3 separate regions of the Homo sapiens genome follow, and regions 1 and 2 are each linked to region 3. The links are contacts of gene promoters, found by promoter capture Hi-C in blood cells and fetal thymus (Javierre and others, 2016). All regions are on one chromosome and are shown on one strand. The core of a region is centred on a gene start or on the middle of the fragment in contact, and the rest is flanking DNA. Distances in the headings are between cores, read along the strand shown. Region 1 holds the start of USF2 (upstream transcription factor 2, c-fos interacting). Region 2 holds the start of PRODH2 (proline dehydrogenase 2). Region 3 holds the start of SBSN (suprabasin).

The links. The method cuts DNA at HindIII sites, captures the fragments that hold promoters and counts their contacts. A CHiCAGO score of 5 or more calls a contact.
Region 1: a contact is called between the fragment with the promoter of USF2 here and the fragment with the promoter of SBSN in region 3, in 1 of 17 cell types (M1 macrophages). The highest score is 5.2, in M1 macrophages.
Region 2: a contact is called between the fragment with the promoter of PRODH2 here and the fragment with the promoter of SBSN in region 3, in 6 of 17 cell types (M1 macrophages, M2 macrophages, erythroblasts and 3 more). The highest score is 9.3, in M1 macrophages.

Annotation. Positions count from the first base shown.
Region 1 is chr19:35,267,126-35,271,368 of GRCh38, forward strand. USF2 (upstream transcription factor 2, c-fos interacting) reads left to right here and starts at 1,837. Exons shown (of 10, transcript NM_003367.4): 1 at 1,837-2,038; 2 at 2,321-2,367; 3 at 2,456-2,574; 4 at 2,678-2,878; 5 at 3,322-3,472; 6 at 3,593-3,680; 7 at 3,958-4,016. The coding sequence starts at 1,977. LSR (lipolysis stimulated lipoprotein receptor) reads left to right here. Exons shown (of 10, transcript NM_205834.4): 9 at 1-609; 10 at 699-839. The coding sequence ends at 734. RefSeq lists silencers at 618-697, 778-847, 948-1,097, 2,256-2,445, 2,586-2,905 and an enhancer at 3,193-3,932. The HindIII fragment of the contact is 13,161 bases long and covers 1-4,243 here.
Region 2 is chr19:35,811,457-35,815,638 of GRCh38, forward strand. It overlaps PRODH2 (proline dehydrogenase 2), which reads right to left and starts at 1,389. Exons shown (of 10, transcript NM_021232.2): 1 at 1,176-1,389; 2 at 904-1,100; 3 at 678-816; 4 at 506-592. The coding sequence starts at 1,349. The HindIII fragment of the contact is 7,636 bases long and covers 1-4,182 here.
Region 3 is chr19:35,526,743-35,531,285 of GRCh38, forward strand. SBSN (suprabasin) reads right to left here and starts at 1,569. Exons shown (of 4, transcript NM_001166034.2): 1 at 1-1,569. The coding sequence starts at 1,539. RefSeq lists enhancers at 273-774, 2,220-2,720. The HindIII fragment of the contact is 2,098 bases long and covers 1,196-3,293 here.

The DNA of each region.
Region 1 (4,243 bases), core at 587-3,086, 260 kb before region 3:
TCCCTCCACGAGGACGACTGGCGATCTCGGCCTTCCCGGGGCCCTGCCCTCACCCCGATCCGGGATGAGGAGTGGGGTGGCCACTCCCCCCGGAGTCCCAGGGGATGGGACCAGGAGCCCGCCAGGGAGCAGGCAGGCGGGGGCTGGCGGGCCAGGCGGCCCCGGGCCCGCTCCGTGGACGCCCTGGACGACCTCACCCCGCCGAGCACCGCCGAGTCAGGGAGCAGGTCTCCCACGAGTAATGGTGGGAGAAGCCGGGCCTACATGCCCCCGCGGAGCCGCAGCCGGGACGACCTCTATGACCAAGACGACTCGAGGGACTTCCCACGCTCCCGGGACCCCCACTACGACGACTTCAGGTCTCGGGAGCGCCCTCCTGCCGACCCCAGGTCCCACCACCACCGTACCCGGGACCCTCGGGACAACGGCTCCAGGTCCGGGGACCTCCCCTATGATGGGCGGCTACTGGAGGAGGCTGTGAGGAAGAAGGGGTCGGAGGAGAGGAGGAGACCCCACAAGGAGGAGGAGGAAGAGGCCTACTACCCGCCCGCGCCGCCCCCGTACTCGGAGACCGACTCGCAGGCGTCCCGAGAGCGCAGGCTCAAGAAGGTGAGGGCCGCCCTCCCTGGCGTCCAGACCGTCCCTGGGCCCCCAGCCGGTCCCCGCGGCTCATACCCTTCTTTCTTTCTCCCTTGCAGAACTTGGCCCTGAGTCGGGAAAGTTTAGTCGTCTGATCTGACGTTTTCTACGTAGCTTTTGTATTTTTTTTTTTAATTTGAAGGAACACTGATGAAGCCCTGCCATACCCCTCCCGAGTCTAATAAAACGTATAATCACAAGCTCTGGAGAGAACCATTTGTTCGGCCGCGCGGGGCGGGGGACCGGGGCTGCTCCCGTATGCGTCTGTAAAGCGCCGCGTCCCGGGGGCACCGGAGTCCGGGGCCGGGAGGAAGAGACCCAGCCTGGCCCGGCCCGCGCCCGCGCCGCCGGCCGGAGAACGTGCCCCGCGCAGCCGCCGCCCGCCTGCGTGCGCGCCCCGGCCCCGCCCAGGCGTGCGCATGCGCCCCGGCCCTCCGCCTTCGCGCACCGCAGGCTGGCCGTCCGGGACGCGCGCGCGCTCCTCTCCCCTTCCAGCCCATCCCCCCCAGCCCCCCACCGACCTACTTTACTGTCTCCAAACTCGGGCAGCCCACCTGGCCCCCGACGACCCCAGCCCCTGCACCGGGTACCCCGACGTTCCATCCAGACCCGCGTTTCACCAGGGCGGCGCGCGGCGACCTCGCGCCCCGCGGAGCCCCGGGCTCGCGCGCGCCCGCCCGCCCCCGGAGACAGACCAGCGCGCGCGCCCCGGGCCGCCTCCCCCCAGCGCGCGTCCGCCCCGGGGCTCGCGCCGCCGCCGCCGCCGCCGCCGCGCGCGCGCAGCTCAAGTAAAGGAGGAAAAAAAAAAGGGGGAAAAATAGAAAGCGGCGGCGGCTGCAGCAGCGATCCGCCGCCGGACTGGGCCAAGCCGGGCGGCGGCCGCGCGAGCCGGCGATCCAGGGCACTGGCGGCGGCCAGCCAGGGCGGGCCGTGTTCAAAAAAAAAAGTCGCGGCGGCGGCGGCTGCTCAGGGAAGGAGGCCTGAGGGCCGCGTGCAGCGGGCGGGCAGCTGGGTGGGCTGGGGGCGGCCGCGCGGCGTCCCGGAGCCTCGGGCCGCCCGGAGCCGGCGGGCGGGCGGAGGCGGAGGCGGCGGCGGCTGCAGCGGCTGCAGGAGCGGCGGCGGCTGCGGCGGCGGCGGCGGCATCTCCTCCTCACATGACCCCACTGTTTGTCCCCGTGATCAGCGCGAGCGGCTCCCGTATCTCCTCCGTCCCCTCCTGCCGCGCGGCGTGAGCGCCGGGCTCGGGGCCCCCCCGGCCGCCCGCCCCCTCCCCTCCCTCCCTCCCCTCCCCTCCCCTCCCCCCCGGGCCCCGCGCCCCCCCCGCCCCCGCCCCCCCCATGGACATGCTGGACCCGGGTCTGGATCCCGCTGCCTCGGCCACCGCTGCTGCCGCCGCCAGGTAAGATCCCCGGCCCGGCCGTGCCCCCGCGCCCCGGCCCCGGCCCCGGCCCCGCGGCCTGCAGGCCGGGGCCGCCATGATCCCGAGCGGCCGCGGGCCCGGCTCAAAATGGAGGCCGCCGGCGCGGGGGGGACCTGGCGCCTCCCGCCCCCGGCCCCCGGCCTCGGCGGCGCCCCCGGCCTCAGGCGCGGCCGGGTGGGACTGGGGCCCTGCAGCTGGGCGCGGGGGCGGGGGCGCGGGCGCGGGCCGCGCTGACCCTGCTCCCTCCTGTGCCCCTGGCAGCCACGACAAGGGACCCGAGGCGGAGGAGGGCGTCGAGCTGCAGGAAGGTGAGTGCTTGCCGGGCCGGCCGCGCCCGGGGAGGGCTGGGGGCGCTCGGCGCGGCCCTGACCGTGCCCCGACCCTCCTCGGCCCCAGGCGGGGACGGCCCAGGAGCGGAGGAGCAGACAGCGGTGGCCATCACCAGCGTCCAGCAGGCGGCGTTCGGCGACCACAACATCCAGTACCAGTTCCGCACAGAGACAAATGGAGGACAGGTGAGCGGCGGGCCGCGAGGGCGAACGGGCGGGCGGGCGGGCGCGCCGGGAAGGCTCGGACCTGGCCCCAGCGCCGGCCTCGCCGCTCTGCCGCCCCCTGCAGGTGACATACCGCGTAGTCCAGGTGACTGATGGTCAGCTGGACGGCCAGGGCGACACAGCTGGCGCCGTCAGCGTCGTGTCCACCGCTGCCTTCGCGGGGGGGCAGCAGGCTGTGACCCAGGTGGGTGTGGACGGGGCAGCCCAGCGCCCGGGCCCCGCCGCTGCCTCTGTGCCCCCAGGTCCTGCAGCGCCCTTCCCGCTGGTAGGTGCCCTGCCACCCCTGGGTGGGGGGGGGAGGGAGTGGAGAGGGGACACTGGCTCTGCTCTTGGGGAGCCCCGGGGGTGGGGCAGGTGTCGCCCAGCGGATGCTGCCTTCAGGCCTCAGGCTGCATGGGGCCAGATCCCTGTTGTGCACCGTGAAACCTGGGGACAGTGCTCTTGGAATTTTTTTTTCCCGCAAAATGGGAATGATGTGTCTTAAGAGGAAAGTTTCTTAGAGTGCGAAACGGATTTGCTCAGCAAGTGATCGCTGACCTCCCGCCATGTTCCAGGGCTGTTTGAAACACAGGACAGAATGCTACACGCAGAAGGAGTCCCCACTCCTGTTAATTGCAGAGAATGCAGTAAACCCCAAGCACAGCAATGAGGGGACGGGATGGAGGAACAGAGAAAGCTAAGGGTAGCCTCTGCCCTCCTACTCCCCAGGCTGTGATCCAAAATCCCTTCAGCAATGGTGGCAGTCCGGCGGCCGAGGCTGTCAGCGGGGAGGCACGATTTGCCTATTTCCCAGCGTCCAGTGTGGGAGATACTACGGCTGTGTCCGTACAGACCACAGACCAGAGCTTGCAGGCTGGAGGTGAGGAGTAGAAGTCAGATTGGCAGGTGGGGGAGGCAACGGGCCCAGCAGGGAGGGAAGCCCCCCCAGCCAGTTCTGACTTCACCCTGCCTTGCCACTAACCCCCCACTCTCCCTGCAGGCCAGTTCTACGTCATGATGACGCCCCAGGATGTGCTTCAGACAGGAACACAGAGGACGATCGCCCCCCGGACACACCCTTACTCTCCGTATGTGCAGGGGACACCTGGAGGGCCTGGTGTTGAAATGGAAGGAAGAGGGGTTTCTGGAGTAGAAGCTGGGCAGTTAGCATGAAGTGGGCACATGGTGTAATGTTTTTTTTCTTTGCCTGTTTCTGCTGCTCTAGTGCACATAAAGTATCATGTCTTTTGTTTTTGCAGATGGATTTACCTTGCAAAGATAATTTTCAAATCTAATACTTAGCAGATGCTTGGGCAAACAGCTCTGCGATAATACATGCCCCCTTTTTTTTTCCTCCTCTTGTAGAAAAATTGATGGAACCAGAACACCCCGAGATGAGAGGAGAAGAGCCCAGCACAACGAAGGTGAGGACAAGGTGTGGCTCCGGGTCCCCCTGACCACCACCCTCACAGGCTCAGCCAGCCCTGGAGTGTGGAGTGACAGAGAGAGAAGCCACTCCTGGGCAGGCCACAAGTGCTCCAGAGGGCTTTGCTGGACGCTGTAAAGGTAGAAAGTGAGCAACGAGGGGAGAGTACAGTGTCAGAAGTAGAGGGACAGGGAGTGTGAATTGGAACTGGCCATTTGTTGACCC
Region 2 (4,182 bases), core at 139-2,638, 280 kb after region 3:
AAGGGAGGGAGGGAGGGAGGGGAGAGAAGGAAAAAGAAAAGAAGGAAGGAAGGAGAGAGAGCAAAAGAGGAAGAGGAAGGAAGGAGAGAGAGAGAAAGAAAGAAAAAAAGATGGAGTAGGGTTGAAAGAGAATGTGGAGATAAAAAGGAATTAATGATTGAATGAACAAACTAAGACCCCATTGGCCTAATCAGAACTTACACCCAGCCAGCTCACACCCATGCAGCTGTGTTGACTGAGAACACACTGATGTACCTCCTTCTAATTGATAAACAGCTTCTATCCCAATCCCTCCTCTGAGAGCCTCCAGCCTCCAGGCTCCTCCCTGAGAACCCAGATGACCCTGATTCCATCCATTTCAACCATGCCTGGGAGCTACAGCTGCACTTCTGCTGGCTGTTCCAAGCCTGGAGGTGGCCGTAGCATTTTGAACATCTGGCGTGCGGTGTGGCCGCATCTAAGTCCAAGGCACTCTGTCCCCGACAGTCCCGCTTGAGATCCTTACCTGCCCAGAGTCCATAGCTTCAGCCAGCCTCTCGGGGCTCAGCTCCAAGGAGGCTCCTGGCCTTCTGACCCACGAGGCTAGCTCCTTCTGAAATGGGGTGGTAGGCGGGGTGGTGAGGGGAGCCCGATGGGCAGCCGCGCCCTCCCCGCACCCCCGTCTTTGCACTCCTTACACAGAGCCGAGTACTGGTCAGCGCCGTCACCTTCAGCTGCATGAGGCTGGCCTCAGCCAGGCTGGGGGGCTCCAGGAGGCCCCGTGACAGGTCCACACACCGCAGCATAGCACCGAGGTTCCCCTCATACCACGCCTCACTGCCCAGCCAGCAGGTGTCAGGGCCCGAACAGCAAAGCCCCTTCCTGCGTCCTCCCAGCCTCCCTGGGCCCTGGCTCCCTACTCACCCACTCTTGGCAGCAGAGTCCGGCTCCTCCTCAGTGGGCACTGCCAGCAGTGGTCGGAGGCTGAGGGTCCGCAGCTGCTGCACGCAGCCCTTCACCTCCTCTGCTGTCTCACCAGCCACAAACTGCCCATAGACGGATGCTCGGAGAAATGCGCCTGAGAGCCGGGAGCCCAGGAGTCGCCGAGACCAGGCCTGGAGCTGGGTGACAGGGAGCGAGGGCTCAGCGCCAGGCTATGAGGAGCCTCCAGGCTGGTCCTCAGGATCACTGCTCACCAACAGCCCGTGAGTGACGAGTGGGGGCCAGGCACACAGCCGGAGAACCAGCAAGGCCCGTGTCAGCTCTCCTGTGCCCTTAAGGTGGAAGGCCCCGCCATCAAAGCTCAGGGACTGCCAGCCCCTGGAGGGGGGACCAGCTTGGGAACAGAGCACGTAACAGGTCCGGAGCATCCTGGGTCCCTGGCTGCCTCCACACCAGGGAAGGTTCTCTGGAGGCAGCAAGTTCACCAACTGCCCCTTGCCCAGACCAGGGGCAGTGACTGATTAACTGGGCAAAGCCTCAGGATCACAGGCTCCTTGGGGGCAATTAATTATTAACAAATGGGGACAGAGTTCAGAGTAACGGAAACGGGAGGTGAACCCCAGTAACAGCCCCCAAGAATGCTCAGCACAACAGCCTGCACTTATTAGGTAACCACCATGTGCTGGGGAAAGCAGGGGCTCCGGAGCAAGGATCCCTGGGCTCAGGACACCGGGCTTTGTGATCCAGGACAGGCTACTTAATCACTTTTGTGGCAATTGCTTCCTCTTAAAATTGGAAACGCTGTAGTGTTATTGAATACATTTGAAAATACGGTTCTCACGTTTGTAATCCCAACACTTTGGGAGGCCAAGACCGAGGAGTTTGAGACTACCCTGGGCGACATAGTGAGACCCCATCTCTACAAAAAATACAAAAATTAACTGTGTGTGGTGGCACACACCTGTGGTCCTAGCTACTCAGGAGGCCGAGGAAGGTGGATCTCTTGAGCCTGGGAGGTCAAGGGTGCAGTGAGCTGTGATTGTGCCACTGCACTCCACCCTGGGTGACAAAGTGAGACTCTGTCGCCAAAAAAAGAAAAAAGAAAAGACAAATAACCTATATAACCCAGCTGTTCCATGCTAAGTACATATCCTAGAGACCTTAAACATGGACAGCAGGAAACATGTACAGGAAAGAATGTTCAGAGGAGCAGTGTCTGAACTACCCAAATGTCCATCAAAAGGAGAATGGATACATATATGGTGGTGTAGTTATGCAATGGAATACTATACAGTAATGAAAAAGAATGGATACTGATACACACAACTGTGTGGCTGAATCTCACAATGTCAAGTGAAAGAAGCCAGACACCAAACAGGGCAAGCTGTATTATTCTTTTTTTTTTTTTTTTTTTTTTTTTTTTGAGACACAGTTTCACTCTTGTTGCCCAGGCTAGAGTGCAATGGCACAATCTCAGCTCACTGCAACCTTCACCCCCCGGGTTCAAGCGATTCTCTTGCCTCAGCTTCCAGAGTAGCTGGGATTACAGGCATGTGCCACCACGCCCCACTAATTTTGTATTTTTAGTAGAGACAGGGTTTCTCCATGTTGGTCAGACTGGTCTTGAACTCCCGACCTCAGGTGATCTGCCCGCCTCAGCCTTCCAAAGTGCTGGGATTACAGGCATGAGCCACTGTGGCTGGTCTATACTTTTCAATAAATATAAAAGCAAGGAAAGTGAAACTGCAGTAAAATGTTGGGAATACATGCGTGGGTGGTCAAACTATGAGGACAAGAAAAGTAAGGACATGATTATCACAGAAGTCAGAGAGGTGGTTGATTGTGGGGGATGGGAGGAATTGTAATGGGGTAGAGGGATATGGGGACTTCTATATCCTATTTTCTTTTTTTAAAATGGAAACCATATGTCTTAATTTTTTTGTTTTGTTTTGTTAGACGTATCCTTGCTCTGTCACCCAGGCTGGAGTGCAGTGGTGCGATCTCGGCTCACTGCAACCCCCATCTCCCGGGTTCAAGTGATTCTTCTGCTTTAGCCCCCTGAGTAGCTGGGACTACAGGCACCCACCACCACACCTGGCTAATTTTTGTATTTTTGTAGATATGGGGTTTCACCATGTTGGCCAGGCTGGTCTTGAGCTCCTGACCTCAAGTGATCCACCCTACTTGTCCTCCCAACATGCTGGGATTACAGGCGTGAAGTCCTAGGTCTTTTTTTTTTTTTTTTTTTTTTTTTGAGACAGAGTCTTACTCTGTTGCCCAGGCTGGAGTGCAGTGGCACGATCTCGGCTCACTACAGCCTCTGCCCCCGGGTTCAAGCAATTATCCTGCCTCAGCCTCCCGAGTAGCTAGGATTACAGGCGTCTGCCACCGCGCCTGGCTAACTTTTGTGTTTTTAGTAGAGTCACGGTTTCACCATCTTGGCCAGGCTGGTCTTGAACTCCTGACCTCATGATCCACCTGCCTTGGCCTCCCAAAGTGCTGGGATTACAGGTGTGAGCCACTGTGCCTGGCAGTGGCTTCTAGGTCCTAGGAGTCCTAGGTCTTAACATGGATGATGATTCATAGTTGTTCACATTGTAAGGTTTTTTTTGTTTTGTTTTTGAGACAGAGTCTTGCTCTGTCTTCCAGGCTGGAGTGCAGTGGGGTGATCACTGCTCACTGCAGCCTCAAACTTCTGGGCTCAAGCAATCCCCCCACCCACCACCTCCACCTCCCAAGTAGCTGGGATTACAGGTGCATGTGATCACACCGAGGGTAATTTTTAATTGTTTTTTTGGTAGAGACAGAGTCTTACTATGCTGCCTAGGCTGGTCTTGAACCCCTGGACTCAAGCAGTCCTCTCACCTTGGGCCTCCCAAAGTGTTGGGATTTCAGGCATGAGCCACGGCACCTGGCCCTCACATTGTAAGTTTTTTTTTTTTGAGACGGAGTCTTGCTCTGTCCCCCAGGCTGGAGTGCAGTGGCGCAATCTTGGCTCACTGCAAGCTCCGCCTCCTGAGTTCATGCCATTCTCCTGCCTCAGCCTCCCGAGTAGCTGGGACTACAGGCACCCACCACCACGCCCGGCTAATTTTTTGTATTTTTAGTAGAGACGGGGTTTTACCATGTTAGCCAGGATGGTCTCAATCTCCTGACCTCGTGATCCACCCGCCTCGGCTTCCCAAACTGCTGGGATTACAGGCGTGAGCCACACTGCGCCCGGCCTTGAAATTTTTATTTATTTTCTTATTTATGTATGTA
Region 3 (4,543 bases), core at 319-2,818:
GCCAAGCTTCTCCACTTCCTTTCCAGCCTGGTCAGCAGCATGGTTGACCCCTTGGCCAAGTTTCTCTGCTTCCTTCCCAGCCTGGTGGACCCCAGTGTGGAACCCTTGGACCGCTTTGTCTGCTTCCTTCCCGGCCTGTTCAAGGGTATGGTGAACTCCCTGGCCAAACTGCCCTGCCTCCTTCCCGGCCTCGTGGACCCCAGGTTGGACACCATGAACTGCTATGTCTCCCTCTTTCCCAGCCTGCCCTGCTGTGTGGTGAATGTCGTGGCCAAACTGCCCCGCCTCCCTTCCAGCCTGACTAACGCCATGATGGAGGCCTTGGACCACTCTGTCTTCCTCCTTCCCCACCTGCGAGGCAGCATGGTGGACACCCTGGCCAAACTTCTCTGCTTCCTTCCAGGCCTCATTAACCCCATGGTGGACCCCATGGCCGAGCTTCTCTGTTTCCTTCCCAAACTGACTGGCAGCATGGTGGACCCCCTGGCCAAACTTCTCTGTCTCCTTCCAGCCCTCACTGAGACCATGGTGGACCCCCTGGCCAAACCTCCCAGCCTCATTTCCGGCCTGCCCCGCAGCATGGTGGGCCCCCTGGCCAAATCTCCCTGCCTCATTTCCGGCCTGCCCCGCAGCATGGTGGGCCCCCTGGCCAAACTTCTCTGCCTCCTTCCCAACCTGACCAGCAGTATGGTGGACCCCCTGGCCAAACTTCTCTGTCTCCTTCCAGCCCTCACTGAGACCATGGTGGACCCCCTGGCCAAATCTCCCTGCCTCATTTCCGGCCTGCCCCGCAGCATGGTGGGCCCCCTGGCCAAACTTCTCTGCCTCCTTCCCAACCTGACCGGCAGCATGGTGGATCCCCTGGCCAAACTTCTCTGTCTCCTTCCAGCCCTCACTGAGACCATGGTGGGCCCCCTGGCCAAATCTCCCAGCCTCATTTCCGGCCTGCCCTGCAGCATGGTGGACTCCCTGGCCAAACCTCCCAGCCTCATTTCCGGCCTGCCCTGCAGCATGGTGGACTCCCTGGCCAAACCTCCCAGCCTCATTTCCAGCCTGCCCTGCAGCATTGTCGACTCCCTGGCCAAACTTCCCTGCCTCACTTCCCGCCTGGTTGGCCCCGTGATGGACCCCATGATGGATCAGTTTGTCTGCCTCCTTCCCAACCTGTCCAGCAGCGTTGTTGACCCCATGGCCAAGCTTCTCTGCTTCCTTTCCTGCTTGTCCAATACCATGGTTGATCTCATGGGCAACCTTGTCCATGCCGTGGTTGAGCCCCTGGACGCCTTTGTCCAACTCCTTGCCGGTGTGGCTCCCCATGTTGCTAAGTCCGTTGAAAACCTTCTCCACTTCCCTTCCGGCATGCGTGATTCCACTGTTGATGCCATCCAGGGCCTTGCCCACCTCTCTCTCTGCATTGCTCAGCCCTCGGTTGATCCCTTCAATGACCTTCTCAATGGGGTCATCGCTGGCCGCCCATCCAGACAGGGCCCCCAGTAGCAGAAGGAGGGAGCAGGAGCCGACCAGACGTGCAAGATGCATATTGCTGGGAAGGTCGGGAAGGATGCAGAGAGGAGCCAGGGAAGCCACGCTGCTATTTATCCTCTCTCCCTCTCGCCCTCTTCTCCACCCCTCATGACTCAATTACCCCTGTGAGGCACTGAGTTGGTCTTCAGTCAAGGAGGTGTTTCCCAGGGAGATTTGGAGTTGAGCAATGGAGAGGAGGAGGAAGAGAGGGTGAGTCATGGATGGAGAAGAACTCTGGCATCTTTGCTCCTTGCCCTCCACCCCAGAGATGGGTGTCTGCCCTTCCAACCACCTCCTCTTTCATTCCTCACCCACTGTCCAGGCCTCCTCTCTCGCAAACCCACCTTCCACCATGCTCCATCCCTGGGATGCAGGCAATTCTTCAACACCTCACTCCTCTCAGGCATCTAAGCCTCCAGCTCCCCAGGCAGTGAGGGGCTAGAATGATGGGAGGCACCGTCTGGAGAGGGGAGAACACTAGGTGGGATGAAGGAGTCATCAGACCTCGTTCTTGTGGGCCAGCCCCTGCCCTCACTCATTCCATTCCAGCCACACAGGCCTTCTCCCTGTTCCACAAACACACCAAGCTCATTCCTGCTGCAGGGCCTTTGCACATGCTCCTCTCTCTGCCTGGAATGCAGAACCCAGATCTTCACGTGGCTGGCTCCTCCTCATCCGTACTTGACTTAAATGCCAACTTCGCAAGAAAACCTCTCCTGACCATAACATGGCATTAATTATACTCTGTAGTATCACCCTTTTGTTTTCACAGAAAAAAAAAATCTGAAATTACCTTTATTTTTTATTGCCTGTCTCACCTACTAGCAATGTAAATTGGTCGTGTTGATCACTGCTGTATTCCTAGCTTCTTGAACACTGCCTGGGGTTCAGTAAATATTTATTGACTGGACAAATGGATGGATTCGAACAGGCCAAGGAAAGAGACTCCGAGCCCGAGTCTGGGTCTCACAGGGTGCTGGAGGGAAGGGCGCCTGGGTCGCCAGGGCAGCATAGAGTCCCTTGTGGAGTGCCGCAGATTTTGGAGGCAGGATCCCATTCCTGTCGCAGAACCCAGACCTCCTGCCTCCCAGCCCTTGGGCAAGGGCAGGGGGCTGATTGCCACGAGCTGGAACAGGACGCAGTGTCTCCTGAAAAGCCGGTTGAGGCAGCCACGGGGAGGGGCCGAAGACCCAGGGCAGCAGGAGCCTGTGAGCCAGAACCTGGGCTGGGGCCAGGCCCTCATCCTTCCTGCCCTCCCGACATGGGGCCTCCTAAGCCCCAACCTGAAGCCCCAAGTGTTGACATATTGGCTCGGGTTGGAGGGGAAACAGCTGAGAGTCTGGCCTCAGGCATGAAAAGGGCATCGGAAGGAAGGGCAGGTGGTGGTGGGCAGGCTTGGGGCAGCAGATGCATCTAGAAGCCAGTTGGGAGGGAGGCTAAGACCAGAACGAGAGCCAGTGGGTGGGTACAGTAGGTGCAGGGGTGAAAGATATTTGGGTTTTGGTGCCAAGGGGAGAGACTGAGAGAGGGGTGGAGGTGGGATTGCTGGTGGGAAGGCCAGGCAGGAACAATGTGCAGGGTGTGAGCAGCTGGAGGTGGCAGAGCTATGTGTGTGGGTGCCCAGGTGTGGCGAGAATCTGCACGTGTTTTCAGGCTTTGCTCAAACAAAGGCGCCAAGGCCCACTCCCCTCAGAGGACCCGGGGTTCCTCTCCAGCTCCTGGACACTTGACTCCACCCAAAGACAGGCATCCCAGGACAGATATCCAGAAGCTTCTGCCTTCTCTGGGCTCTGCCTATAGAGGGTGACTAAGTGTGCCACCTCTCCAAGCTTGAGCTCATCAAATCTGTTTCCCGGTTTCACACTCCAGGGACAAAGCCAAATTCCTGGGCAAACTCAGGTGTGGTTTTTCTGCCCTGGTCCAGGGCCGAAATGATGGAGTTTCCCATACCAGGAGGTGGCTGGGCAGAGAAGAGTGGGTGATGAGTGTCAGAATCCTAACCCACCCAGAGATCAAGAGGTGGGATTTCTCCCACTTTGAACTGTGTTCCATCTTCTTTTTGTGTTTTTGGAGGGAGAGTCTCACTCTATCCCCCAGGCTGGCATGCAGTGGCATGATCTCGGCTCACTGCAACCTCCGCCTCCCGGGTTCAAGTGATTCTTCTGCCTCAGCCTCCCGAGTAGCTGGGATTAGCCGGGCACCTGCCATGATGCCCAGCTAATTTTTGTACTTTCAGTAGAGACGGGGTTTCACCATGTTGGCCAGGCTGGTCTCGAACCCCTGACCTCAGGTGATCCGCCCACCTCGGCCTCCCCAAGGGCAGGGATTACAGGCGTGAGCCACTGTGCCTGGCCTGAACTGTGTTCCATCTTCTCTATCCCTCTCCACCCCATCCTTTCATCTTCTGCCAGCCTCAGTCCCTCTCCTCTGTCTCTCTATTCCCATGTGGCACGATTCGATTCAGGACTTCAGCATCTGGCTCCATAACTGAGAATGGCCTGGAGTTGTCCTTTCTTTATTTTATTTATTTTTTTTATGAAGTATCACTCTGTTGCCCAGGTTGGAGTGCAGTGGCAATCTCGGCTCACTGCAACCTCCGCCTCCCAGGTTCAAGTGATTCGCCTGCCTCAGCCTCCCGAGTAGCTAGGATTACAGATGCATGCCACTACACCTGGCTAATTTTTGTATTTTTAGTAGAGATGGAGTTTCACCATGTTGGCCAGGCTGGTCTCAAACTCCTGACCTCAGGTGGTCTACCTGCCTCGGCCTCCCAAAGTGCTGGGATTACATGTGTGAGCCACTGCACCCAGCCAAAATCAGCCCCTTTTGAATCCTGGTTTTGTTGAGGTTATATTTTTCACCTCCTTGATTGTACACCAAAATGTAGCTCCCTTTGTTTAATTAATCATCTGTGTTTTGGTCTCGGTTCGTTAAAACCTCCTCACCTGTACACTTAGTTTACTTTCTTCTCCCAGGCCATCAAAGCAGGAGAGCCTCACCCTGCCCTGGTCCCATGGCA